2 separate regions of the Homo sapiens genome follow, and region 2 is linked to region 1. Evidence: promoter capture Hi-C in 16 types of primary human blood cells and fetal thymus (Javierre and others, 2016). All regions are on one chromosome and are shown on one strand. The core of a region is centred on a gene start or on the middle of the fragment in contact, and the rest is flanking DNA. Distances in the headings are between cores, read along the strand shown. Region 1 holds the start of C1QL2 (complement C1q like 2). Region 2 holds the start of MARCO (macrophage receptor with collagenous structure).

Region 1 (5,630 bases), core at 1,592-4,091:
CTATGTGGAGGCTGCCTGGGCTCTGCCTGCCCTGGAGCCTGCTGCCCCTGCCTCCTGGTGGAGGGCTGGTCTTGAGAGGCGCTCCCAGGAATGCTGATCCCCAGGGAAGGTAGCTTTGCTTGTGGTCTGCCAAGGTGAAAGCCTGGGTCTCAAACATCTGACCCTCCTTGCTTCATCTTTGCCCAGATACTGCAAGGACAAAATCACTGGGACTTGGCAGTCTCCAGCAGTCTGAAAGGCTGGGGAATTCAAACGGAGTGAGTGTCTGCCTGGAAAATGTTTGTCCAGGTGGAACTGGTGACTGGGAACAAACACTCTGGGTAGTTTTGAAAGACAAAAAGACAGAGCAGGGCAGGCTTGGGGAATGTGGGAGGCATGGGACATCCCCCTTCTGCGCTCTGGAGAAGGACAAAGGATGTGAATTATCTTTGAGCTTCTCTTTTTTTAAAACCCTAACCCTCCCCATGCCACCCTGCATATTGCCTTCATGTCGCATCCTAGTGGTCATAACCATGGCAGGGGAGGTTGAAAGCATCAATAGCTAATAAAAATAGCTAAGCTTCTACTGAGCTAGCTATTGTTCTAAAGCCTTTACATTAATTGGCTCGTTCAGTCTTCTCAATAACTTAGAGGTAGGTTCTTTTTCCATTCCCATTCTACACATGGAGATCCGAGCTCAGAGAGATGAAGCAACTTGCTCAAGGTCACACAGACAGGAAGTCTCAGACCCAGGATTGGAAGTAGGCCATGTGGCTCCTGAAATCACGTGCTCTTGGGATGACTCTGAGGCAGAGAGTGGAGAAAGACTCCCAAGTCTGAGGAAACCAGTGAAGACTGTGGCCAAGAAGTAGCTGTTGAAGCTGTGTTCACTGACAGGTTCAGATAGCCCCTGATCTGGGTGCCGGGAGGATCCTGGCTCTGTCATGTGGGTAAAATGCACTTGGCAAACACCCTACACTTGCAAAACCTTTTTTTTTTCCTCATTGGTGCGGTGGGAAAATGATCACTAATCCACAGTAACATGAGGAATGAATGAAGGAGCACGTGCAAAGTGCCTGATGCATACGTAGTAGGTGCCAATAAATGTGCTCCTTCTCTCCTTGGTAAAGTTGGCTTCCGGCTAGGCTCAGTCATCCTTTCCACAAATATATGTGGAGAGAACAGGCTAGAGCAACGAGGTTGGGAGTGGGGAAATGACCCAGGGTGATCAGAGGACAAAAATAGATTTTAATTAACCCGTAAGAACCTAGTGCAGGACAAATGAGAGTTAGCTTCAAAGCAATAGCCTTAGGTGGGTGCACTGTTGTTCCAGAGATGCTGATGCTACACCAAACACTGACACCAGCCCTTAGATTCTCCCCCCAGGACAGGCCTGGTGTGATTCCCATGTTGGGGGTGCTAGGGCAGGAGGCGGCCTTTTAAGGAAACTGAGTCTCAGGGACAGGAACCACCTGGCAAAATCACACAGCTACTCAGGGCAAGAGCAGAAGCTGGGGCTTTGATTTCTCCGCTGGAAGTCTCTCCCACACCGGCGGGCCTCTCATCCTTCCTTAGCCTCACATGCTACATTGGAGATAGACTATTCTGCTCTCATCTGAGGCCATGGTTTATTCAAGACTGGCTCAGAATGGCTTTGGACTATTTGGACTATTTTCTAAAATAACTAAACCCATCTCAGGAGGAGGAAGCTGGGGATGTCCAAGGGAATGTGCCCATGCATCTGCCTGGCAGTGGCCGGGCTTGGAGTAGAAGCTGAGTGCACCATGATCACTGCCAAGTGCCGGCATCAAGCATTTGGTTTCTACACCAGCTTCACGCAGAGGACAAGGGCCAGCCATTTTCTGGTGGAAGAAAAGGTCTGAGGCGAATATTCCTTTTTTTTTTTTTTTTTTTTGAGATGGACTTTTGCTTTTGTTGCCCAGGCTGGAGTGCAATGGCACGATCCCGCCTCACCGCAACCTCTGCCTCTCTGGTTCAAGCGACTCTCCTGCCTCAGCCTTCCGCGTAGCTGGGATTACGGGCATGCACCACCATGCCCAGTTAATTTTGTGTTTTTAGTACAGACGGGGTTTCATCATGTTGGTCAGGCTGGTCTCAAACTCCCAACCTCAGGTGATCTGCCCGCTTCGGCCTCCCAAAGTGTTGGGATCACAGGCGTGAGCCACTGCGCCCGGCCGCAAATATTCTTGTATTGGGAGCCTTGGGCTTTTTAGAGTCACCTCAGAGGTTAGTGGGGTGCTCTACGGGAGCCTGTTTAAGAGTCTGGAGTCCTTAGTCTAGGTTTGCGAAAGATCTTCCAGAAGCGAGATCTATTCAATTCTGAAGAAATAACTCAGGAGGTCTTTCAGAAACTCCTTCCCGCTGGACCTCACGGGACTCTCCTGGACTCGGTGGGTTGAGGTTTGATCCTCTTTGCAGGCCAGGGGATGGATTAGGTGACCCCAGAGGAGCCCTGCTGACACCTGGATTCCAGCTGCTTTCGTGGCCATGTGGGGGTGGCTGTGCGTGCCCCGCCACTGCGTGCGTGGGTGTCTGTGTGTGTTATCGGTGGGGGGCGCGTGAGTGTGGCCGCGGGTGGGTGTGTCCGATGTGCCCCGGCTTGGGACCGCGCCCGCTGCGCCCACTTGTGGCTCCTGGGAGCCGCCAGGGGGAACCGCGCCTTCACCGCCTCTGCCGAGGACGCCGCCAGATAGGAGGCTGATGACATGAGGGCTCCGTCTCCCGAGTGATGGCAGCGCGCGCTGCTTCGCCGCCTCCGCCGCTCAGCCCCGGACTCCTTACGTCAGGGTAGCGGGGTCCCCCCTCCGCGCGGGAGCCAGCGAACAGCGAGAGAGCACAGCAGAGCGCGCCGCGGAGCCGGGGCGCCCTCACTGCGCTAGGAGCCCCACTAAACCCAGCGGAGCGGAGCCTGGCGGGAGGCAGCGCCGCGGAGCCAGCGCCGGACGCCGCAAGCAGACTCCCCGGCCAGCGCAAGCACTCCCTGGCCGGCGCCGGACCCTCGGGGCGCCGGATTCGTCTTGTGTGCCCCACGTCATGCGCGCGGGCGTCCGCGGCTCTCCCGACCAGCCCCAGCGCGGTGGGCCCAGGCTCAGAGGTCCCGGCGCCTCTCGCTGAAGTAGTTGGGTAGCCGGGGCTGGGGGTCGCCACGTCGGGGGCGCGGCCAGGACCCGCGGAGCCGGTCCCCGAGCGCGGGGAGCGGGGCCGCCCGCGCCGCCCCACCATTACCTCCCCGGGCGGCAAGGAGGAGCTGGTGGCGGTCGCCTCCCGGCTGTGGCAGCGGCGGCGGCGTGCCTGCCTGGCGGCCGTCGGCGTACTCTTGGCCATGGCGCTCGGGCTGCTCATCGCCGTGCCGCTGCTGCTGCAGGCGGCGCCCCGAGGCGCCGCGCACTATGAGATGATGGGCACCTGCCGCATGATCTGCGACCCTTACACTGCCGCGCCCGGCGGGGAGCCCCCGGGTGCAAAGGCGCAGCCACCCGGACCCAGCACCGCCGCCCTGGAAGTCATGCAGGACCTCAGCGCCAACCCTCCTCCTCCTTTCATCCAGGGACCCAAGGGCGACCCGGGGCGACCGGGCAAGCCAGGGCCGCGGGGGCCCCCTGGAGAGCCGGGCCCGCCTGGACCCAGGGGCCCTCCGGGAGAGAAGGGCGACTCGGGGCGGCCCGGGCTGCCAGGGCTGCAACTGACGGCGGGCACGGCCAGCGGCGTCGGGGTGGTGGGCGGCGGGGCCGGGGTAGGTGGCGATTCCGAGGGTGAAGTGACCAGTGCGCTGAGCGCCACCTTCAGCGGCCCCAAGATCGCCTTCTATGTGGGTCTCAAGAGCCCCCACGAAGGCTATGAGGTGCTGAAGTTCGATGACGTGGTCACCAACCTCGGCAATCACTATGACCCCACCACGGGCAAGTTCAGCTGCCAGGTACGCGGCATCTACTTCTTCACCTACCACATCCTCATGCGCGGCGGCGACGGCACCAGCATGTGGGCGGACCTCTGCAAGAACGGGCAGGTCAGTGACCCCTACACTCACCGGCCCCCGTAAACCCTCGCCCGCGCCCTGAACCTCCCAGGGAACCAGCCTCCTTTCTCTCCACCCGCGGGCTACCCTGCGAGCCCCGGGAATGAACGCGCCTCGGTGCCACAGTATCTCCGCTTCCCGATGCGCCGAGGCCGCGCTCACCGGGACGTAGAGCCAAATGTTGGGCCTTGAGAGCCCAGAGACCCCCATACCTAAACTACACTCCTTGGCCACTTGCGTCCCTGCCTGCCTCTCCGTGGGCTTCTCGGAAACCTCAGTTCTTTAGTTCTCTCCAGGTCGCCCCCTTGCCCTGCAGCCTCCTTTCCTCTTGGCCCTGGCCCCTGGCTCCCACCCTTCCACTCTGGGTCAGTGTTCATGAAGCTTCCCCTCTCCCTATTTCCCAGACTCGTCGGCGCGAGGAGGAGGGGGGACCTGGAAGGAGTTGACTAAGTTGGAGAGAGAACATGGAGCTGGGGTGGGAGTGTGGACCCTGAAGCAGCAGGCGGGAGGCCCGTGAGTGGCGCGCCTGGTGTGGGCTGAGCAAAGGCGCGGGAAGAGGTGCCCCGGCTCACCTGCTCCCACCGCTTGTCCCCAGGTCCGGGCCAGCGCCATTGCACAGGACGCCGACCAGAACTACGACTACGCCAGTAACAGCGTGGTGCTGCACTTGGATTCAGGGGACGAAGTGTATGTGAAGCTGGATGGCGGGAAGGCTCACGGAGGCAATAATAACAAGTACAGCACGTTCTCGGGCTTTCTTCTGTACCCGGATTAGGGGCGCGGGGGGTGCGAGGCGGGGTGGCTGCAGGCCGCCCGGTCTCCGCCCGGGCGCGGCTCCTTGGCAAAGGCCACTCTCGATTCATAACACTTCCTGACATCTCCTTTGGAAAAGACAAATCCCTGCGTCCTCCCTGCCCCGCTCCTGGCCTCAGTGCGTCTGCGACCCACCACGCTCAGGGCTGTGCTCCTGGTCTCCATCCCCATCCCGGCAAGGGAGGAAGGGACGCCCGAGCCCTTGAGGCGGCGGCACAGACTTTGCAAACCTGATTAGACTGGACAGGCAGGGCCGGGAGCCTGCCCTCCTCAGACAGCCTCCTCCCAGTGCCTAGAAGCGGAGGGCTCCGGGCCCTGGCCAGGGAGGTAGGCCAGAGGGAGCGCGGGCTTCCTGGGGCGTCCTTCTTTGTGACCCGAAATACTTGTGCAGATTTCCCTGTCCATCAGCCAAAACCCCACCCACAGCAGAATTCCAGCAAACAGAAAATTCACCTCTCCACACCGCATTCCCTCCTGACTCAGACTCACCGCGATGCATTAAATTATGTTTTTAGACTATGCGTTCTGTTGTCTGTATGTCGACACATCCTGGACCAGGGCTCCAGATGTCCGCCTTGGCATAAAGACCTTACCTGGGCCCAGGATAGGCCCATCTATGACCTGCTCCCCAGCCGCTGCTATGTCCCTGCCACCAGAAGTTGCCGAAAAGACATGGGGTAAATGGGAGCTGCATCCCACCCTTCCCAGAAGCTCTCCCCAGGCTGCAGCCCTGAGCTGGAGAGGCCGGAGGTGGGGTTGGGAGGAGGGGAGGAGGCGGGGAAAGGCATCAGGGAGAGTTAGA
Region 2 (6,207 bases), core at 2,355-4,854, 220 kb after region 1:
CTTCTCTCTCAAGAAGAATGTTCTTCAGACTGAAGTTGGTGGGAAGCCTGAAGTAGTTGAGAGATTGGAGTAAGAGGTCCCAACAGGGCCAGGTAGGTGGCTCATGCCTGTAATTCCAGCACTTTGGGAGGCCAAGGGGGGCGGATCACTTGAGGTCAGGAGTTGGACACCAGCTTGGCCAACATGGTGAAACCCCGTCTCTACTAAAAATATAAAAGTTAGCCGGGCATGGTGGTGGGCACCTGTAATCCCAGCTACTAGGGAGACTGAGTCAGGAGAATCACTTGAACCCGGGAGATGGAGGTTGCACTGAGCCGAGATCGCTCCCCTGCACTCCAGCATGGGTGACAGAGCGAGACTCCATCTCAAAAAAGAAAAAAAAAAAAAAAAAAAGAAACAAGAGGTTCCGACAGATCACATTGCACAGCCTAACAAGTGCTTGTCTTGTTAGGCTGTGGTAACAGTAGTCTTCCTTGAGAAACCAGACGGCCAGGAGTGTGACAGGAAGCCTAAAGCCAGACACAGATTGCTAATTTTCAAAAAGGTAGAAACAGACACATCCCAGAAAGATATTGCCAACAGGTAAATCCTCTCGTTCAAGCCCAAATGTTCCATTGTTGAGGTGGATGATGGGGCAAAAGAGCAGTTTCTATGGCTCTGAGGAGAGACCTGGGATTCTGTGAGACCCTGAGGGCCACAGAAGCCAACCCTATGTCAAGTCCCCTCAGGAAACTAAAGCAGTCTTTGTGGTGGTTATTCATCCATGGATACATATATCAAATCATCACGTGTACATCATAAATATATACAGTTTGTATTGTTAATCACACTCCTAAAAAGCTAGAATAAAAAATAAAGAAAAGAAAGAGTACCTTAATTCTAGTGCAGATAATGGAATGAAGGAGGCTTGTTCTAATGAGGGAGGCTGGAGGTGATGGCAGGAAAGAGGGATGCAAGTTGCACTGTGCTTCTAGAGGGTACAGTGTGAAATTTACACTCCTCATCCTTTTTTTAAGATTAATTTTAGAAAAAATGAAGGTTATATTCCAAAAGTTTCCCAAACTCACTTCTAAAATTTTCTTCAGCATGTGTTGAAAACTTTCCTAGTCCAGTATCCTTGGGTAATAATAATAAAAAAAAACTAGTTTAATACTTTATAATCAGGGAAAAACAGCATTTTATATTTCAATACCAACAATAGAGAAAAATAAATGAGGAAAATGACATTAGAAATATTTTTCAGTGCTGTTTTTCATGAACCATATGTGGGAATTTTAAGATAATGTATTTTCAAAAGAAAATAAAACTATATATGGCCTAAATAAATAAATCTTCAGCAGACAAAAAATAAGTAATGTGCAGAGCCGGCCCTGAGGGGTCACTGTGTTACCAGAGCCTCACAGTGATTACCTGCATAATGGCACTCTTCTAGAAAGTTTCATATGTTCCACAATCTTTGTATTAGAAGGCAGGATGTTGTGAATGCATATAAGAAAATGTTTCTTTCATCCAAATTGGAGTAGTTTTGGTTTTTTGGTGAGATACTTTAAACATTTTATTTATTTATTTATTGGTGGAGATAGGGTCTCACTATGTTGCCCAGGTTGGTCTCAAATTCCTGGGCTCAAGGAATCCTCCTGCACTGGCTTAGTTACATTTTTAATTGGTGACACACACAACCCAGGTCAGAAATCTAGGGTTCACTATTAACTCCTGCGTCTTCCTCCCCAGCCCTGTCCTGCCATTGCAGTCCAATTGATCTGATTTCCGGTGTTTCTCCAGAGCATTCCTTTATTTTCCTGCCTTCCATCCACTGCCCCTCATCATCTCTTGCTGCCAAGTTCCTCTCTGTCCTCAGCTTCTCTCTCCAGCCATCCCTATGTAGGACAAAGAGCAACCTCACATGCACATTAGTGCCTTTCAGCCCCACATCGGCCCCTTCCTGCTTCCCCACTGACCTCAGGATGAAGTCAAATTTTTTGGTTCCAGCCTCAGTCCCCACTGGTCTTTCCGTCCCAATTTTGGCCAAACAGTATGGAAGTATTTATATTTCTCTGAATATTTCTTGTGAATACAATACAAACATGTGGCGCCCACCCCGCCCCAGGCACTAACTTCTTTCTCTAACGGACTCCCTTTATCCTTTAAACTTTGGAAGAGGTGTCAGCTCTGCCCTCCAGGGCTCTACACCTGGTTAGATCTGTCCATCATGTCCTGTGGAAGTCTCAGTCACAACATGGAAATTGTCAGTTCATGGGCAGCTTACCCTGTCCCCTGTCCCCTCGTGCCAGAAGCCAGAGGCCAGAGGCTATGTTTATTCAAGCCTGTTTCCTCAGTGCTGAGTGCAGTGCCCTGCTGGAAATAGGTGCTGAGTATGCTTGATCAGCTGACTTTGCTTGAACATCTTCAGTCTCTTAAACAGTCATGTATCCAGAATGTTGCATTCTGAGAAGTTCTAAATAGCCAATGATTATTATAGCCATTAGCACTCACACCTTTCTCTGTTATTACACTGTAAATTCCTAGAGGCAGAGCCCCAGACGCTTCATCTTTGTGCGCTGAAAATTCCAGGCAGGGACCTGGGCAGACAGGTGTGGGATGAGAAGGACACTCTGGCCAGGAGATAAAGCCACCAATTTTCCTGCATAGACAACTTCCAGCAAAGCCTGGGAGTGGAAATGACTGATCAACTTGGAAGATGATCCCAAGAGAACGTTCTAGACTAGGAAATCAGAGCTCATTTGTGGAATGCAAGCCCACCCATGACTTCAAATGCTACAAATTCTAGAAGATTTTAAAAATGCATCACCTGTTGAATGCTGAGTGAGAAAATAAAGACAACAGAGTTGACTGAATATTACAGACCTGAGTTTAACCTAAGACAAACTAATTATGAAGCTATGAACATATTTCAGTCAACATGAAATACAGAATATGTTTCCTGACCAGCACATCAGTTATAACAGAAATCCCCTTAAAGAATTTTAAAGAAGCTGTGTTTTGAAAACTGTCATGCTTGGCTTCAGTTTTGTGGTCCCCTTTCAGTGCCCCTGTTTTGCGTTTTCATTGTATCACCCAACCTGTGTGTCAGAATAAGACATTCATTAAAAAAAGGGGACATTTAATAAGCATTGGCATTTTTTCAAGGGAAAATATTTAAATATGATTAAAACAATAGTGAAGCTAAGAAAAACCTGACTATATGCTAAAAATACAGCATCTATTATTAGCATTCCAGAAATTCCAAATTGAAGCACTCCAGACAGTATTAGTGATGATTACGTGCAAAATGCAGCAATAAGCCAAACCTAGACTTTCTATTGACTTGTCTATTTTCGTATCTCGCTAGCAGAAAGACTACATTTCTGGTCATTTCCATTATTGGGGAATCGTACTTTACCATTGATTTCGAAAGGCTCCATTGCAATTTGGTGAAAAGCAGCTTGTTGGGTCTCACTCAAGAGCTCGTCCTCCTTGAGAATTTTCTTATTTCTCATTGCCAAGCTTTATAGATGGCCAAAGTCCTGGAGCCAGCAGAAATGCTCCCCTCAAGAGGAACCACTTGGAGAAAGATCCTTCCCATCGAACCACTGCAGCTGGTTGTAAACCTCGCAGCACTTCCCTTTGGCTCTGATTTCAGAATTTGCAGGATGTTTCCTGACATGATCAGGATTGGACATTTCTCAAACACGGGCTATTCACATGTGGATCTCCCACACAGTGCTGCTGCTTGTTAAGGGGGATCGAGGAGGCTTTGGGACACAAGTTACGGGCCTCTGAATGCACCCGTCACTCCCAGGTCCCTGAGACCCAAAAGCTGGATGGCTCCAGAGAGGGCCAACCAAGCCCTGCCATGGGCCCAGACTCAGCTCTCTGTCCCAGGACCTCTCCAGCCCACAGTGAAATCTCCCTTCTCTGACCTGCCTCAACCTTTAGAGTTCATCCTTGCTGCTCAAAGTGTGGTCCATGGACCAGCAGTATTAGTATCACCTGAGAACTTGTTAGAAATGCAAGTTCACTTGTTCTAACAATGAGTCTCTGGTCCCACCCCATCAGATCAAATCCAAATCTACAGTTTAACTAGATCCCCAGGTGATTTATATACACATTACAGTTTGAGAAGCCTTGCTCTGAACCACACATTTTAGCACTTAGTATTTCTTCTTGTAGTTTTCCCATGTTCTCTCTCTGTGTGTGTACACATGTGTGCACATGTGTACATGTGTTACAGGTGTCCTTGTCCAGGCCCCAGTGAGATCTGAGCTCCTTAAGGAAAGTAGCTTCTCCCCTCTCTCCCTCCCGTCAGGCATCTCTACCAGGGATGCTGTATAGCATGGTGGTTAAGACACAGACACTAAGAGCTAGAATGCCTGGCTTCAAATTCCACCTCTTCCACATAGGGGCTGTCTGGCAGTAGGCAAATCACTTGAGCTTTGAGCATCTCACTCTTCTGTTTGTATAAATAAGGAAGATATGAATTTCGTGAGCCTTAAATGAATTAAATCATATAAGGTGGCTAGGATGGAAGTATTAGGTAATAAACACTATGGTCATGTTGTTGTTATTATCATTAGAGACATTGTGAGCCTGCTGGGCACCGAGGAGATGAAGAAATGGCCTTTTTTCATGAAAGATATTCACAGTCTACCATGCAAGATGGTTGCGGCTACAACTACATTCCAGAAAATTGCTGTGAAGTGCGGCAAAGGTTGATGTCCCTGAAAAGACAGAAGTGCCGGGAGGCAGGGGAGACAGGGCAGAAATATGACAAATAGCTTTATCATCTGAATCAAGAGATATCAGATACCAGAGCTGGGCTTAAAAGGATAATGGGGGATTGATCCAGATCAAGATGAGGCAAAGGCCCTCCAGGGAGGAAGGAGGGCAGGTGCAGCCTCTCAGAGGTGGGACAGCCTGGAGCAGGGGAGCCGTAGACTTTTGGCCTATTTGAAATGTAAGAGGTGAGGAAGACAGGTGGCAGGAAGTGAAGCTGTGCCAGGCGAAGTCACTTTCTTTGGCCCGTGGTATGTCAGAAAGTGAAAGGGGATGAAACTCAGGAAAGTGAGCTCCTAGCAGTGCCCTGAAAAGCAGAGGTCCCCCGTGGCGCCCACAATTTCAACATTCAGGAAGTCACTGGTTCCGCCAGAGGACAAGCAGCAGAAGCCAGGACAGAAAAATTTAAAGAGGAAAATTGGAAATGAGGAAGTGATGGCTCCAGCTAGAGTCTGGGGGGTAGACAGGACCAGATAATTGAGGACACAGGGGATTTGCCCACTGGAGGGCAGTCCCCTAGGCAAAGGAACCCGCTCACTTAGCCTGGCAGAGCTCCCTGCTCTCCCTCTGCCTCTGCCTGGTCAGCTCATCTTTGATTCTCATGGGTGTGGGGAGGGGACTTATTAGAAAATGTCATGGGCTAATTATTGAGGATCCCTGTTCTTAAAGGAAGCACTTAGTGGATGTCAAGTGTAGTCACTTCACCTCTGGCTAGAGACCAGAGAGACTTGGGTCCCAAATTCAACTCTTTCATTAACTTTCTGTGTGACCTTGGTTGACTTACTTCTCTGAACTTCCACACAGAGTAATGGCTTGTGCAAGCATTAATTCCTATCCAGGATTTACTGTTAATGCCAGACACTGTGCTAAACATTTGCATACATTGCTCAACACTCATAACTTGCAACTTGCCTTAAATTGTGTGGTTATAAAGAGCTACACCAGAATTTGAATCCAGACTCTCTGCCTCAATCTATAGACTGATTTAATTCTGGTTTAATCCAGGGGTTCCAATCCAGAGGTTTGCAGTAGAGGAATGCCAGTTTCCCATCCCAAACCTGAGGCTCTGGTTTTAATAAAAATTTCAGAAAGAGCTCTAATGTGCACCAGGCTTAGGACCACCGAGTGGTATAATTGAAGCACTCATGTGCAGTGTGGCCTCCTGACTCCATCCTAGGAGGATCCATTAGGTTGAATCATATGGAATGACAGATATTTATCTGTTTTTCATATGCAATAAATGGATACTTTATATGACTCAAGCTAATCCATTCACCTTGCAGGGCCTGAGACTCAGGGATTAGGATGAAGCAAATAATTCACTAGCCTTGAGTACAAAAGATTCAATAATCAAGATAAATAATATTTTAGTGCAATATATTTAAAAAATCAAAGTTAATGCAAAAATTCTGCGATGAACAAAATATCATCATT

What was found. The method cuts DNA at HindIII sites, captures the fragments that hold promoters and counts their contacts. A CHiCAGO score of 5 or more calls a contact.
Region 2: a contact is called between the fragment with the promoter of MARCO here and the fragment with the promoter of C1QL2 in region 1, in 2 of 17 cell types (M1 macrophages and M0 macrophages). The highest score is 5.6, in M1 macrophages.

The regions. Positions count from the first base shown.
Region 1 is chr2:119,155,962-119,161,591 of GRCh38, reverse strand. C1QL2 (complement C1q like 2) reads left to right here and starts at 2,841. Exons shown (of 2, transcript NM_182528.4): 1 at 2,841-4,006; 2 at 4,611-5,349. The coding sequence starts at 3,323. The coding sequence ends at 4,790. RefSeq lists an enhancer at 3,663-4,473. The HindIII fragment of the contact is 3,837 bases long and covers 562-4,398 here.
Region 2 is chr2:118,939,591-118,945,797 of GRCh38, reverse strand. It overlaps MARCO (macrophage receptor with collagenous structure), which reads right to left and starts at 3,604. Exons shown (of 17, transcript NM_006770.4): 1 at 3,401-3,604. The coding sequence starts at 3,497. The HindIII fragment of the contact is 9,171 bases long and covers 3,507-6,207 here.